2 separate regions of the Homo sapiens genome follow, and region 1 is linked to region 2. The links are contacts of gene promoters, found by promoter capture Hi-C in human tissues and cell types (Jung and others, 2019). All regions are on one chromosome and are shown on one strand. The core of a region is centred on a gene start or on the middle of the fragment in contact, and the rest is flanking DNA. Distances in the headings are between cores, read along the strand shown.

Region 1 (6,947 bases), core at 1,362-3,861, 1.2 Mb before region 2:
GAGGTATTTGTTTCATTCCCTTGCTGGAAATGTCTTTATCTCTAGCATTTTTTATATCTCTTTTCCTGTTAAATGTACTTTGTTAAAAAAAAAAAAAGGATCTATCAGTCCTTTATACTTCCACATGAATTGAAGGCAATAAATATACCTCCCAAGAAATAGTCTTTTGAGTCTTGCCCTTAAAGAATGACACAAGTTGTTTTATTAGTGGGATTTCAGTTGAGCAGCAATGCTGGAGGAGAGGATGGTGGTTATCAAAGAGTTTTATGGGAGTCTTTTTCATCAGGAAGTAGGAAAACATTGTTCTAGGAAAAAAGTTTAAAGTATTGTGGCACTAGCATACTAATATACTCTTTGTAAGAACTGTTAAGCCAGGTATGTAATTTATATTTTTCTTTTCTATCAATCTCTGGCCATTCCTCCTATAAAGTGTACTTTCTCTTCATGTAAGGTTATGATGATTCCCCAAATATTACTGCAGACTTCCAAATTCTTTTTCTGCAGTCTCTCTGCTTATAACAAATGTCTTCTTAATGATCATAAGAAAGTAAAACATATCTTCAAAATTAAATTTAAATGTTTCTTTCCCTCTCCTCATCTGTTTATTAACTCATATTTACACCAGACTCCTCCATTATCAATGTCATGTTAGTCATGCATATATCTCTTTAATGGAATACTTGTCAATATTGAAATTATTCAGTTCCTTATCTCATTTGCTTCCCAACACATTGTAATCAACTTGATGTCAGAGTCATATCCTCACTGTCTTTGTTTCTCAAAGACCAGAAAATTAATATTACTAAAATTTTTGAAAATACAGTAAATATTTTGCAATGATTTTATCTTTTTAGGGAATTTCTTTACAGTCTTTCAACTTCAATACAACATCTTGAATTATTTAGTTTTTTTCACATATCCTTTTTTAAAGAAAATCTTTAATGCATATTTATTAATCTCTAAATTTAGAATGAAATTTTTGTCTTACCTACCTGGAATTGTCTATAATGTCTACCCTTATTCTGCCTTTTCTGACAATTTAATTATGTTCTATCAGAGATAGCTCTATTAAAATTTAAGCCAAAAACAGAAGCAACTATTTAGATAAGTTAATAATGTATCCCAATTTGTAAGAATATGTTTAAATGGCTTGATTAAAAGCAGAATGTACTGTTTTCTAAATAGTCTTCACAATTTCTTTAATTTGCCTTTCTTCTCAACTATTTGTCTTACCTCCTGAGTTCTACTCTAGAACTTTGTAGAATTAACTATTACCGCCATGTTAACAATACCTATTGATTTTTGTCTTTCAATATTAGAAAATTCAAATAAAGGCCATGAACTCAAGTGATGTAAGCCGGTTTATTTAAAATACTGTATGCTAACAACACCTCTATCTGGACTTAAATCCCTGTTGTGGCAAAAAAAAACCTACATATGCTGATAAAAGACAAGATTATAGTTCAGACATGAACTTTCCCACATTAAAAGGCAGACAGAATTTTATTTAAGCACCGTAGTTTATTGTACAATTGGAAAAATGTATCTCAAGCACAAGTGGTATGCAATTATATATCTTCACTCATTCTGTGTTAATATGTTTGCTCCTTTTTCTTAAATCAAAACATTGTTACCTAGTAATTCCCATCCTCTACATTATGGCAATGACACCACATATCTGTCTATGGATTCCTGTGCACTAGACGTATTTTAAATACTTTAAGCATGTGGATTATCTTACTTCCTTCTCACAATAAAAATATACCTAGAAATTCTCTATTTAATTACTATTTACCTAGACACATCTTTACAGTATTTATTAGGTGCTACTATGTACCAAGTGACATCTTTTGGCAAGGGGAATTGAATGAGGAAGAAATAGAAAGCTTGAACAGACCAAGAATGATTAAAAACATTAAAGAAGTAATCAAAAACCTTCCAACGGAGAAAAGTCTTAGACCAGATGGCTTCATGGCTAAATTCTAGCAAACATTCAAAGAAATATAAATACTTCCAAACACATATTATGAAGCCAGTATCACCTCGATGATACCTAAGCCAGTCAAAGACCCCACAAAAAAGAAAACTACAGGCCAATGTCCCTGATTAACATTCATGCAAAATGCTCAATATAATATTAGCAAACTGGATTCAACAACACATCAAGAAGGTTATAGATAAAGACCAAATGGGATCTGTCTCTGGCATGCAAGCCGGGACTTAACAGTTGCAAATTAATCAATATGATATATCACATTAACAGAATGGAAGATAAAAACAACATAATCTTCTCAATCGACACAGAAAAAGATTTTGACAAAGTTTAGCAATCTTTTTTTTGATACAAACTCTTAACAGTTTAGTTATAGAAGGAAAATTCCTCAACACAATAAAGTTTATTTTTGAAGACACCACAACTAACAGAAAACAACTGAAAGCTTTCCCATTACGATGTGGTACAAGGTGGGGATGCTCACTCTTACCCCTTTTATTCAACACAGAACTAGAAGTCCTATCAAAGACAGGTAGAAAGAAATAAAAGAAAAAGAAATAAAAGCCATGAAAATCGGAAAGAAGAAAAGTAAAATGATGTCAATTTACGAATGGCATATTCCTATCCAGAATATGGATTCCAAAAAAAAATTGTTCAAACTAATAAATGAATTCAGTAAATTTACAGGTATAAAATCAACATACAAAACTTAGTTGGATTTCTCTGCACACATAATAAACTATCTAAAAAGAATCAAGAAAACTATCCCATTTATGATAGTATAAAAATAGTACCAAGAAATAAATTCAACCAAGGATGTGAAATACTTGTACACTGAAAACTGCAGAGCATTGATGAAAAAAATTGAAGAAGAAACAAATAAATGAGAAAATATCCAATACCTATAAATGGGAAAAAAATTAATATTGTAAAAATGTTCATACTACCCAAAGCAATGTAAAGATTTAATGCAATTCCTATCAGAATAATACGTCATTTTTATGGAAGTAGAAAAAAGCAATTCTGAAATTAATATGAAATCACACACACACACACGAAAACAGAATAGCCAAAGCAATATAAGAAAAAAATGAAGTTACAGATGTAGCATTTCCTTATTTAAAATTATATTACAAAGCTATAGTTATCAAAAGAATGATACCTGCATAATTACAGAAACAGCCCAGTGGAACAGAATACAGAACTGACACAGTTTAGCTGTAATAATGCCCATGTATCAAGGGCAGGACCTGATAGAGATAATTGCATCATGGAGGCCGTTTCTCCCACATTGTTTTTGAGATAGTGAGTAAGTTCTCATGAGATCTGATGGTTTTATAAGGGATTTCCCCCTTGGCTTGGCACTCATTCTCTCTCCTGCCGCCCTATGAAGAGGAGCCTTCTGCATGATTGTAAGTTTCCTGGGGCCTCCCCAGCCATATATAACTGTTAGTCAATTAAACCTCTTTTTTTTAAATAAATTACTCATTCTTGGGTATTTCTTCATAGCAGTGTGAGAACAGACTAATACAGTAAATTGCTACCACAGAGAGTGGGGTGCTGCTATAAGGATACCCGAAAATGTGAAAGTGACTTTGTAACTGGCTATCAGTCAGAGGTTGGAACAGTTTGGAGGGCTCAAGAAAAGACAGGAAAATGTGGGAAAGTTTGAAACTTCCTAGAAACATTGAGGGCTCAGAAGACAGAAGAAATATGGGAAGGTTTGAAACTTCCTAGACACTTGTTGAATGGCTTTGACCAAAATGCTGATAGTGACAATAAAGTCCAGGCTGAGGTGATATCAGATGGAGATTAGGAAATCGTTGGAAACTGGAGTAAGTGTCACTCTTTCTATGCTTTAGCAAAGAAACTGGCAGCTAATTGCCCCTGCCCTAGAGATCTGTGAAACTTTGAACTTAAGAGAGATGATTTAGGGTATCTAGTGGAAGAAATTTCCAAGCAGCAAAGCATTCAAGAGGTGACAGAGCATAAAAGTCTGGAAAATTTGCTGCCTGACAATGCAGTAGAAAAGGAAAAACCAATTTTCTGGAAAGAAATTTAAGCCCATTGCAAAAATTTGCATAAGTAATGAGGAACAAAATGCTAATCACCAAGACAATGGGAAAAATGTCTCCAGAGCATGTCAGAGACCATCACAGCAGCCCTTTCCATCAGAGGTCCAGAGGGGTAGGATGGAAAATTGGTGTCCTGGGCTGGGTCCAGGGCCACCCTACTGTGTGCAGCCTCAGGACTTGGTGCCTTGCATCCTAGCCACTGCAGGTGTGGCTAAAAGGGGTCAAGGTACAGCTCTGGCCTTTGCTTCAAGGGTGTAAGCCTCAAGCCCTGGTGGCTTATATGTGGTGTTGGGCCTTCAGATGCACAGAAGTCAAGAATTTATGTTTGGGAACCTCTGCCTAGATTTCAGAGGATGGATGAAAATGCCTGGATGTCCAGGCAGAAGTTTGCAGCAGGGGTGAAACCCTCATGGAGAACCTCTGCTAGGTCAGTGTGGAAGGGAAATGTGGGGTTGGAGTCCCCAAACAAAGTTCCCACTGGGGCACTAACTCGTGGAACCACCATCCTCCAGACCTCAGAATGGTAGATCCACTGACAGCTTGCACCAATCACCTGAAAAAGCCACAGGTGCTCAATGCAAGCAGTGAAAGCAGCCAGGAGGGAGACTGTACCCTGCAAAGCCACAGGGGTGAAGCTGTCCAAGGCTGTGAGAGCCCACCTCTTGCATCAGCAAGACCTGGATGTGAGATATGGAGTCACAGGAGATCATTTTGGAGCTATAAGATTTAATAATTTCTTGTTGAATTTTGGACTTGCCTGGGGCCTGTAGTCCCCTTGTTTTGGCCAATATTTCCCATTTGGAATGGCTGTATTTACCCAATGCCTGTAGCCCATCGTATCTAGGAAGTAACTAACTTGCTTTTAATTTTACAGGCTCATAGGTGGGAAGGATTTGTCTCATGTCAGATAAGACTTTGGACATGGACTTTTAGGTTAATGCTGGAATGAATTAAGACTTTGGGGGACTGTTGGGAAGGCATGATTGTGTTTTAAAATGTGAGCACATGAGATGTGGGAGGGGTCAGAGGTGACGTGATATGGTTTGGCTGTGTCCTCACCCAAATTTCATCTTGAATTGTAATAATCCCCACTTGTCAAGGGTGAGATAATTGAATAAGGAGATAATTGAATCATGAGAGGGGATTCCTCCATACTGTTCTCATGATAGTGAGTGAGTTCTCACAAGATATGGTGGTTTAATAAGGGGCTTCCCTTTTTACTTGGCATTCATTCTCTCTCCTGCAACCCTGTGAAGAGGTAGCTTCTGCCATGATTATAAGTTTCCTGAGGCCTACCCAGCCATGAATAACTGTGAGTCAATTAAATCTCTTTTCTTTATAAATTACCCAATCTTGAGTATTTCTTCATGGCAATGTGAGAATGAACTACTACGAGAGCCCAGGAATAAATCAAAATGTGTATGGAAAATTAATTTTTGACAAGGGCACCAAGGGGACACTATAAAGACAGGATAGTCTCTTAAATAAATGGTGCTGGGAAAACTGGATTTCCACATACAAAAGAATTAAATTGAACCATTATCTTACACTATACAGAAAAATTAATTTGAAATGGATAAAAGACCTAAATGTAGGACTTGAAGTCATAAAACTCCTACAAGAGAACATAGGGAAAAAAAATCTCCTTGACAGTCTTTAAGTTCTTGGTGATCAATTTTTTTGGCTATCACACCAAAAGCTCAGGCTACAAATACAAAAATAAACGAATGAGACTACATCAAATGAAAAGCTCCCGCATGCCAAAGGAAACAATCAACACAACAAAGAGGCAACCAAAACACTGGGGAAATATATTTCCAAACCACATATCTGATAAGGGAAGGGATTACTATCCAAAATGTATAAATAACTCCTATTATACAATTCAATAATAAAAATACAAAAACTGAATTAAAATGAGCAAAAAACCTGAACAGATCTTTTTCAAAATTAAAAACAACACATAAAAGTAGCCTACAGGTATATGGAAAGGTGCTTAACATCACTAATCAACAAGGAATGAAAATAAAAATCACTGTTAAATTTCACCTCACACCCAAAAGAATGACTATGATCTAAAAGGGAAGAGATAACACATATTGACAAGAATATAGAGAATAGGAAACCCTAATACATTGTTAGTGTGAATGCAGATATATATAGCCATTATGGAAAGCAATGTGTAGGTTTCTTAAGCAATTAAAAATTGAAGTATCAGATGATCCAGCACTGCTCCCCTCTCTTTCTTTTTCTTGGTATGTATGCAAAGGAGATGAAATAGTCACACCTAAAGATATCTGGACTCCTGTGTTCATTGCAGCATTTTTCATAATAGCCAAAATATGGAAACAAACTAAATGTCCATCAATAGACATTTAGTTACAGATATGTAGTATAAATGAAATGGAGTATTATTCAGCCTTAAAAATAAGGAAACCTGCCATTTGCCACAACATGGATGAAGCTGAAGGACATAATGATAAGTAAAATAAGTCAGACACAGAAAAAAAAATTGCATGCATGATCTTACTTGTATTTGGAATATTAAAAAAAATCTCAAATACACAGACAGAGGGGAAAAAAGTAGTGGTTTCTACGGGAAGGGAGGAGGGTGATGAGGAAATGAAATGAAGTAGGCAAAAAATACAAAATAGCAGATATGTAGCATGAGCAAGTTTAGAGAGCTAATGTACAACATTAGTGAGAACTAATGTTAATAAAATTGTATTGTATTAGAAATTTTTGTTAAATAGATTTTAGCTGCTCTTATCACAAAAATGTATGTGAGATGATAAATGTGTTAATCTGTTTTACATTAGTAACCATTTTACTATCTATATGTATCCCATAAAATCATGTTGTAAACCTGAAATATAAAC
Region 2 (7,516 bases), core at 2,512-5,011:
TGGTTAAAGCTTTTTTCCCCCTTAAACACAGTATGTGTATGGCGTGTGTGTGTGTGTGTGTGTGCGTGCGTGCAGCAGAGGTAGGGGATGGTCATTCATTCCTCACTGAAATCTGTGCTCGTGCACACCATGATGATTAAGCCATAAGCATTGTACTATGTGTGCTTTTCCTAGCAGCAACACATGTAGGGCTAAGTTTTAGATCAATGATTTGGATTGGTTGATCAGAGCTGCCGATGCCAATATTCTTAATTAAGTTCATGTTTTAAAAAGTGAATTTTTTCTCCTAATCAAGAATAATTGTTAATGATCATGAAAACATTTTTTATCAGGTAATCATTGCATACAGATTTGTATTATCTAAAAGAAAGTCAGAAAACATAATTATTTATTTATATGCATCCCCATTATAAAGATAAGATAGCCTCTTAATCATCTGAAGAGAGATTTAGTGGAAGTTGGAAAATCCTTCATCAAAATTAATATCCCTAATAATGGTTTATAAAGGAGATTTTTTTAAAAAAAAGAAATTGAAACTTTGCAAGCTGTAAAAGGAGAGAAGCACCAGTAATTTTGACTGAGGCATCTAAAGTAATGAAGTAGCCTAAAAACTGATGAGATGTTTCAGCTGTACCAAACTACTGAACAAAACAAGAGAATTGGGGAACAGGACACTTTCTGGATTGTCTTCCCAGGATATAAGGACACTCCTTAAATGCTCCCCCCTCTATTTGGTCCTGGGGGTGCTAGCCCCAGCTGATGGGTCCAAGACAGTACCGGACCAATCAGGGTCATTTTCTTTTCTCTCTCTCTTTTTTTTTTTTTTTTTTTTTTTTTTTTGAGACAGCGTCTCACTCTGTGGCCCAGGCTGGAGTGCAGTGGTGCAATCTTGGCCCACTGCAACCTCTGCCTCCTGGGTTCAAGCAATTCTCCCACCTCAGCCTCCCAAGTAGCTGGGATTACAGGGGCGCACCACCACACCCGGCTACATTTTTTTGTATTTTTAGTAGAGACAGGGTTTCACCATGTTGGCCAGGCTGGTCTCAAACTCCTGACCTCAAATGATCCTCCTGCCTTGGCCTCCCAAAGGGCTGAGATTACAGGCTTGAGCCACCGTGCCGGGCGTCAGGGCCATTTTCTAAGAAATTAGAAAGGGGGCTGAAAGAGAAGCCCTCTTTTCGACAGGTAAGCTCTGGAACTGTTGGGGTGCTGTTCTGCCCTGTGGACTGGAGGATGAAGGAGGCAGGTGTGAATGGAGACAAAAGGAAAGCAGAAGTGTCCTGAGGAGGAGATAGAGCTAGGGGAAGAATGCTGGCGGCTTCTCCGGGCCTGCCCCTGGGCCTTTCCAGAGACTCTGCAGAATTTCCACCCTTAACTTTCAGGAGAAACCCTATACAATAATGACACATACCTCTTCATTTGCTTAACTATCTCTGATGGGCTACTGTTACTTGCCAACATGTTTTGGTGTGATGATAGAGAACAAACCAGAAACAGAACTTACACAACTCCAAGTAATCATTTAGCCTCAGTAACTCTCAGTTCCTAGTCTCTGAAATGAGGGTAAAATAATTCTAGATATTTACATCAATCCTGTATTTGAAGATGAATAATTATTGTGACAAATATTACTAGAAAGCCTCAAAAATCACATAAAATCCTTTAGTACAAGAGCTGTCTTTTATATAATTTCATGCTGCCACCTGAACTGTTCAGAAGCAAACGGATTGTCCACTCATACAGTTGTTGTTCTAAACACCTTTGACATGTAGCTTAATGGGGTTTGAAGAATAGTATATTGCAAACAATTAGAGGTTTCCTTTGTGAGATATTAACTGGTTCAACAGACAGAAAATCAACTTCACTATCAACCCTCTTCTACCATAAAAATCAGCCAATTTGCACATTTTTTCTGCTAAAGGTGGTCTTAAAATATGACTTATTTTATTGACATATTTACGTATTATGTATTCATGTATTATCCTACTACCACATATGCTAATAAATTATACCTGTACATATAATCTGTGGGTCTCTATGTCTGCATACACACCTGCACACCCTTTTACCAATAATATTTCTGCTTCTTGTGTGTTCCAGTTTCACTGCCTTGGACATGTTATGTAACTTCTGTTGTCTCTTCATCAGTCTGTTTTCTCTGTCTTAATTGGGAAAATATGACACCACTTATTGAAGGATGAATTAAATAAAATAGTCTACAAAAGTACTTTGTAAACAGTAAAGGACTACACAGACACACAGAGCTAATATTTCCAATTAAATGTATAAGAAATTCATAATCTGACGAATGGACTATGAATCTAAAGCAGCTTTCTTCTCCCCCATTCTTACTTCATACGTGTTTAAAGAGCTCTATAAAAAGAAAATGTTCAGCCTCTTCTCACAAATTGGTAGCAATTCTTCATTTGGGGAAGGTCTTTTCCAGAAAGAAACTCAAATCTTTCCATCTTCCATGTGCAGAACATCTGTGCTAAAACCATTCCATGCACACTTCTTTGAAGCACTGGCTGCCTAAAGGAATACTTTTGATTTGGGCTTTATTTAAATGCCTGAACTTCTATTGGAGAAACAAAAGGTTTTCTAGTAAGAGCTCAGTTGGGAACAGGACCAACCTCCAGCCAGTTTAACTACTCAGAGGCCAAGCAGCCTGGCATTTCTTAGAGCTCTGTGCAATGGAAATCTCCCTGAGAACTTGCAGCACAGGCGAACAGCTGGTTTGGGAGGCTAGTGACCCTGGGTGCAATCACTGTGGTAATTAGATTTAATTTTCCTAATCCAACAGTGGCTGACTCCATCATGCCTATGTCTCCTATGTAGAAAATCATTACTCTCATTTAATGGTACTTTGACATGTTTCACATTTTTGTGGCTTAGTACCTTAACATTAGATATTACCTCTTTGTAACTATCAATCTAGCCATTCAAACAGCTATGTGTACTAAAGAGTTTAATTTGAAGGTTATCCAACTTCGGCAACTTTCCAGAAGGATCTTCGAACGTTAAGCAGACCTTGAATATCATTGTACACCCCTCTTCTGCAAGTCTTTTGTATGCTTGTATCAATTCATTTAGAACGATGGCATCAGTCATAAGTCATTGGCAAGCCTGAAGGGTTTGGGTTTTCAGTGTTTCTGCAAGCCCAGGGAAGCATGGCTTCATGCTACGACATCCTGGGGTCACTCCAAAAGAGTAACAGAGATCATGGGGCTACGTGAAAGCGTGTCTTCCTGGGAGGAGAGAAGGAAAGACATGTATGAATCTATCCATGTCTGCTTGCATCTGGAGAACGCCTGTTTATGTTGTAAAGAAAAGCCATCGGTATTGTCATCTCAGGAGACCGGCTTGTTTTATGTGTGTGCATGTTATACGTGCTATCACACGAAGCTGGCCAACTGATAGAGTGACGAGGTACTGTGTCCCTGGGAATTGTAATTGCTTGGTCGGTGAAAAAAAAAGAACATCAGACCATTGCTGATAATAGCACAAGGTGCATTTTGATAGTACAAAAGAGGAAACAGACGGAGTCATACAAGTTCTGAGTATATCTTAAACCCCCTCCAACAAAAAAAAGAAAGAAAGAAAGAAAGAAAGAAAGCAAGGGAAAGCCTGGGGCTGAAGGAGTGTTCCAGGGAGCGAATTGCTCAGGACTTCAAACACTGGGAGTCATTCTGTCAAGGGGAGGGGGCGGGCGGGGGCAGGCACTGGGCCTCTTTAACAAAGTCCTCCTCTCTTTGCTCCCTCCCACTTCATTCACTTGCAAATCAGTGTGTGCCCACAAGAGCCAGCTCTCCCGAGCCCGTAACCTTCGCATCCCAAGAGCTGCAGTTTCAGCCGCGACAGCAAGAACGGCAGAGCCGGCGACCGCGGCGGCGGCGGCGGCGGAGGCAGGAGCAGCCTGGGCGGGTCGCAGGGTCTCCGCGGGCGCAGGAAGGCGAGCAGAGGTGGGTTCGGGCTCCGTTGGCTATGCATACATCTCCCTTTTTTTTTTTTTAATTCTGTAGCGTTGATAGAAGCCAATCAGAGAGAGAGCCCTCTCCGCCCGGTGGGTGCCGCGCCGGAGTTGGGAGGGATGCTCTCAGCCTGCGAGCCCGGGTCGGGGCGGGCGCGCGGGTCCGGCTGCGCGGGCGGCGCTGCTGCCGCTGCTCAGGACCGACGCCGCTTCCCGGGGAGCCTGGGCACCGCTCCTCCGCCTCCTGGTAAGACCGATCCGCCGTGGGGCTGGGTGGGGGCACCGGGAAGCGGGCCGCCGCAGAAGAACCCGCTGCCTTTCTCTACGCCGGCAGAGGCTGCCAGGGGAGCTCTGGCATTTGCAAAGTTGGCTGGTCAATTACCAAAGGGCGCTGGTGCGTGCAGGTCCCGCCGAGCCGTTTGGGGCTTGATTTATCTCCACCTGCCCGCATCATAAGGGTCTGCGTGGTGACTGCTTGGGCTGAGTTACATTTCTTAGCTTTTGGGGTAAAGCAGAAAATCAGGTAGTCTGAAAACTCTGGAATGCTCCCAGTAAGGAAAACTTAAACTAAAGAGACGATTTGGCTGGTAGAAGGAGCTAAAGAAAACTGTTAGCTTGCACGTTCCGGGCAACGCCTGCCGGCTCATCTAGGACAGAAATGCTTAGGTTGCAAGGAAAGTCCAACACTGGACTCCGAAAATGGAGCACACTGTCCAGGGAAAAGTCATATGGAAGGCGCAGTTCGCTCGTGCTCCTCCACGGCTGGCCAGGCTCAAATCTGGGGGATAAAGCCTTCCCCGGACTGATTGGAGAGTGGTTGGAGTGCGCTTGGTTTTCGGTGCCAGATGCTGGAAAATTGGAGCCCCCAATGCGTTAATCCCAGAATTTAATAAAAAGGGACGCTGCAATGTTGTGGACTGCAGCAGTTGCAGAGCTGAGATTACTTCTTCCGTAGTTAGATATTCTGTCATGAGTTACCGTAGATCTCGAGATGGGAGATGCTGGAGAGGTCAGCGTGGTGCTAAGAAGTGTCACTGCTGCAATAAAATCCATATTTTATGGGGAGTTAAATGCAGGTCTCTGTCAGTGCAAAGGGCTGGCCACCTGAGTTAACTATGACTCAGAACATTCAAGAACCAAGAAGTTTAATCATCTGGAATAGCCACACATTTCTGTCTCCTACTCCCATTAAAAAAAAAAAAAATTTAAATGATGATAGTCATACTATAGAGGTGTATCAGACCGTGTCTCTGCGAATCTTCACTTTCACTTCGTAAAGCACACAGTGGGAAAGAAGGAAGAGGTTTTCCCTGCAAGAATGTTGCAGGAGTGGCTGTTGTGTACATATATGGCTGCTCTGGAGGGGTGCAGATCAAAATGTGGGCTTTCTGAGTGGTTAATTATCCAGGGGGTTGCAAACTCCTCCCTGTGTTGGAAAAAGGAACCCAGGGATATGCCTAGTTAATGTACAACTCTTCCAAGAAGGACTAACAAATATGCTTATATGAATAGTGCCAAGGGTTGCTTATTTCCTTTCTTTTCTTGCTGAAAGCTTTACCTGAAAAGGAAAACCCTTAGGATTTTACTTTGAGAGAGAGAAAAAAAATCTCTTCCAGTTTCACCTGAGACTTGAGCATCATCCCGTGTGTAATAGTACTTGCACGGCTCTATGCTTGCATTTTAGAGAACCGTAAAACCAGTTGTGTGAAGAAAGGGGTATGCTTGAGCAGATGTCTTCATTATGTCATAACCAGGAGGGTAAAGTTTATGCCAGAGGCCAGATTGTCAATGCAGAGCTCAGAAACTTAAAAGAAACCCAACAATTGACTGGAAAATGCAATCACATAGGGTTGTATCTCATCCCCTTTTGCTCTTTGATGTGTTCTAATTAAAAAGGTACTGAAGGAAAATAAAAGACAGATCTTTTCCCACCTAATGTAATGGTTCATGCCATACTTTTGAAGCAGAGGAAGTAACCAATTTCTTCAGAAAAACTAAGAGGCAGCAGCCCAATTTTGAAGGAAAATGGTGCCAATTCAGTTCTACTGTATTTGTGTCTACAATTATCTTTTGCTACCATTACAAGAAAGTGACAGTTTGGTATCTCCATAGGGACTTTTAGTCCCTTTACTATCTGGCTTTTACACCAATTTATTGCACTTACATTTTGTACTGCTAACTCTGCAAAGATAATATATGGAAACATAATCATTTTCTACCAAGTTGCCTACTATCAAAAAACGTGTACCCTACCTCTTCCACCCACCACTTCCATCAGCTTTGCAAGGAAAAACTTAGTGAGGCACTCTTCCTTTTTAAGAAAAAATGTACCTTGCAAAATACTGCTCGAGACACTTGAAAACAGCTAAAAATTTTCTAGAAAGCACAGCTACAGTCACAGGGTATTATATGATACTGTATTATTATAGCACCAAATCTGAAAATTAGGACTAATTGAGTGAATGTCCCACAGAGATTTCTTTAAAAGGAATGAAATGTGACCAATATTCTGAGTGAAACTACAATCTTCCTAAGGAATTGAAATGTGTGGTCCCCCCTTCTGGCCCGGTAGTTGCTTTGCAGTCACGAATGCCAACACACTAAGGCTGAATCCTTTGAACTATTCAAACTTTTTTTAGTTGGAAGGGACCTCTAGTGGGTCACTCCATGCATTTCTCCCTGGAGTTCAGCTGCAGAATGGATTTTGTTACCTAAGATAAGAGTATAACAACTTTTTCTCTGTAGACAAGTTAGTATTCTCTAAGCACTATCTTAATATTTGTGACAGGTCAAATCATTATTGCTATTATTTCTGTACTTCCTCTAATTTAGGGGACTTACAAATATTTTTATGGTTTTCTGAATATCTAGACTTTTGGTAACTGCTGGATGATTCCAAATGAAAGCAATGGCCAATTAATAAAGAATTTACCATCATCAATATAAGATTTTCTTATTTCTGATCTTTTCCAAGACTCTACTTCCTTACTTCTAATTTACTCAATAACAATAATAACATTATATTTAGAACTCCAAAAGTTCTACATGAAGAGCGCCGCCGCCCCCCGCCCCCCAACCAACAACAAGAAAAGAAATATTTGCAGGAAAAAAAAGTGCAATGACTGTTTCAGAAATCTGTGAACATTCACAAGTTATGCTGAACTAAGGCCATCTAATTCAAAGAATTCCCCGTTCAAATAAATATATGTTGAACATCCAAAAGCTGTTTAGATACCTGTGTCATCCTTACTCCAGGTTTTTTCTGTTTCATTTCTTTCCTTGATGTATCACAACACATTTTAGGTAACCTACTCCTTAAAATACTCTGCCTGGAACTTGGAGCAGCATAATTTCTGTAGGGTGAATCAGCCTCTTCTGCTGACAGCCTGCAGGTTTCAACTTCCAATTTAAAAATCTGTTCTAAAGTTTGAAATGTGTTCCAAATAAGATAACATCCAGCAGAATCCAGTTGCCTTGTGCTTCTTGCTTAGTCATGGCTGCTTATTCTTTGGTGTCCGTCAGAATTAGGGTCTCACTTATAAAAAT

The links. The method cuts DNA at HindIII sites, captures the fragments that hold promoters and counts their contacts. A contact is called where the count stands out against the background at its distance.
Region 1: a fragment that was not itself captured here is called in contact with the fragment with the promoter of CDH6 in region 2 in 1 of the 25 tissues and cell types used here (dorsolateral prefrontal cortex).

The regions. Positions count from the first base shown.
Region 1 is chr5:30,031,350-30,038,296 of GRCh38, forward strand. No RefSeq gene overlaps it. Among named protein-coding and RNA genes, the nearest start is that of LINC02064, 640 kb to the left of the region's middle. The HindIII fragment of the contact is 5,954 bases long and covers 1-5,588 here.
Region 2 is chr5:31,189,925-31,197,440 of GRCh38, forward strand. CDH6 (cadherin 6) reads left to right here and starts at 3,762. Exons shown (of 12, transcript NM_004932.4): 1 at 3,762-3,962. The HindIII fragment of the contact is 7,217 bases long and covers 1-7,006 here.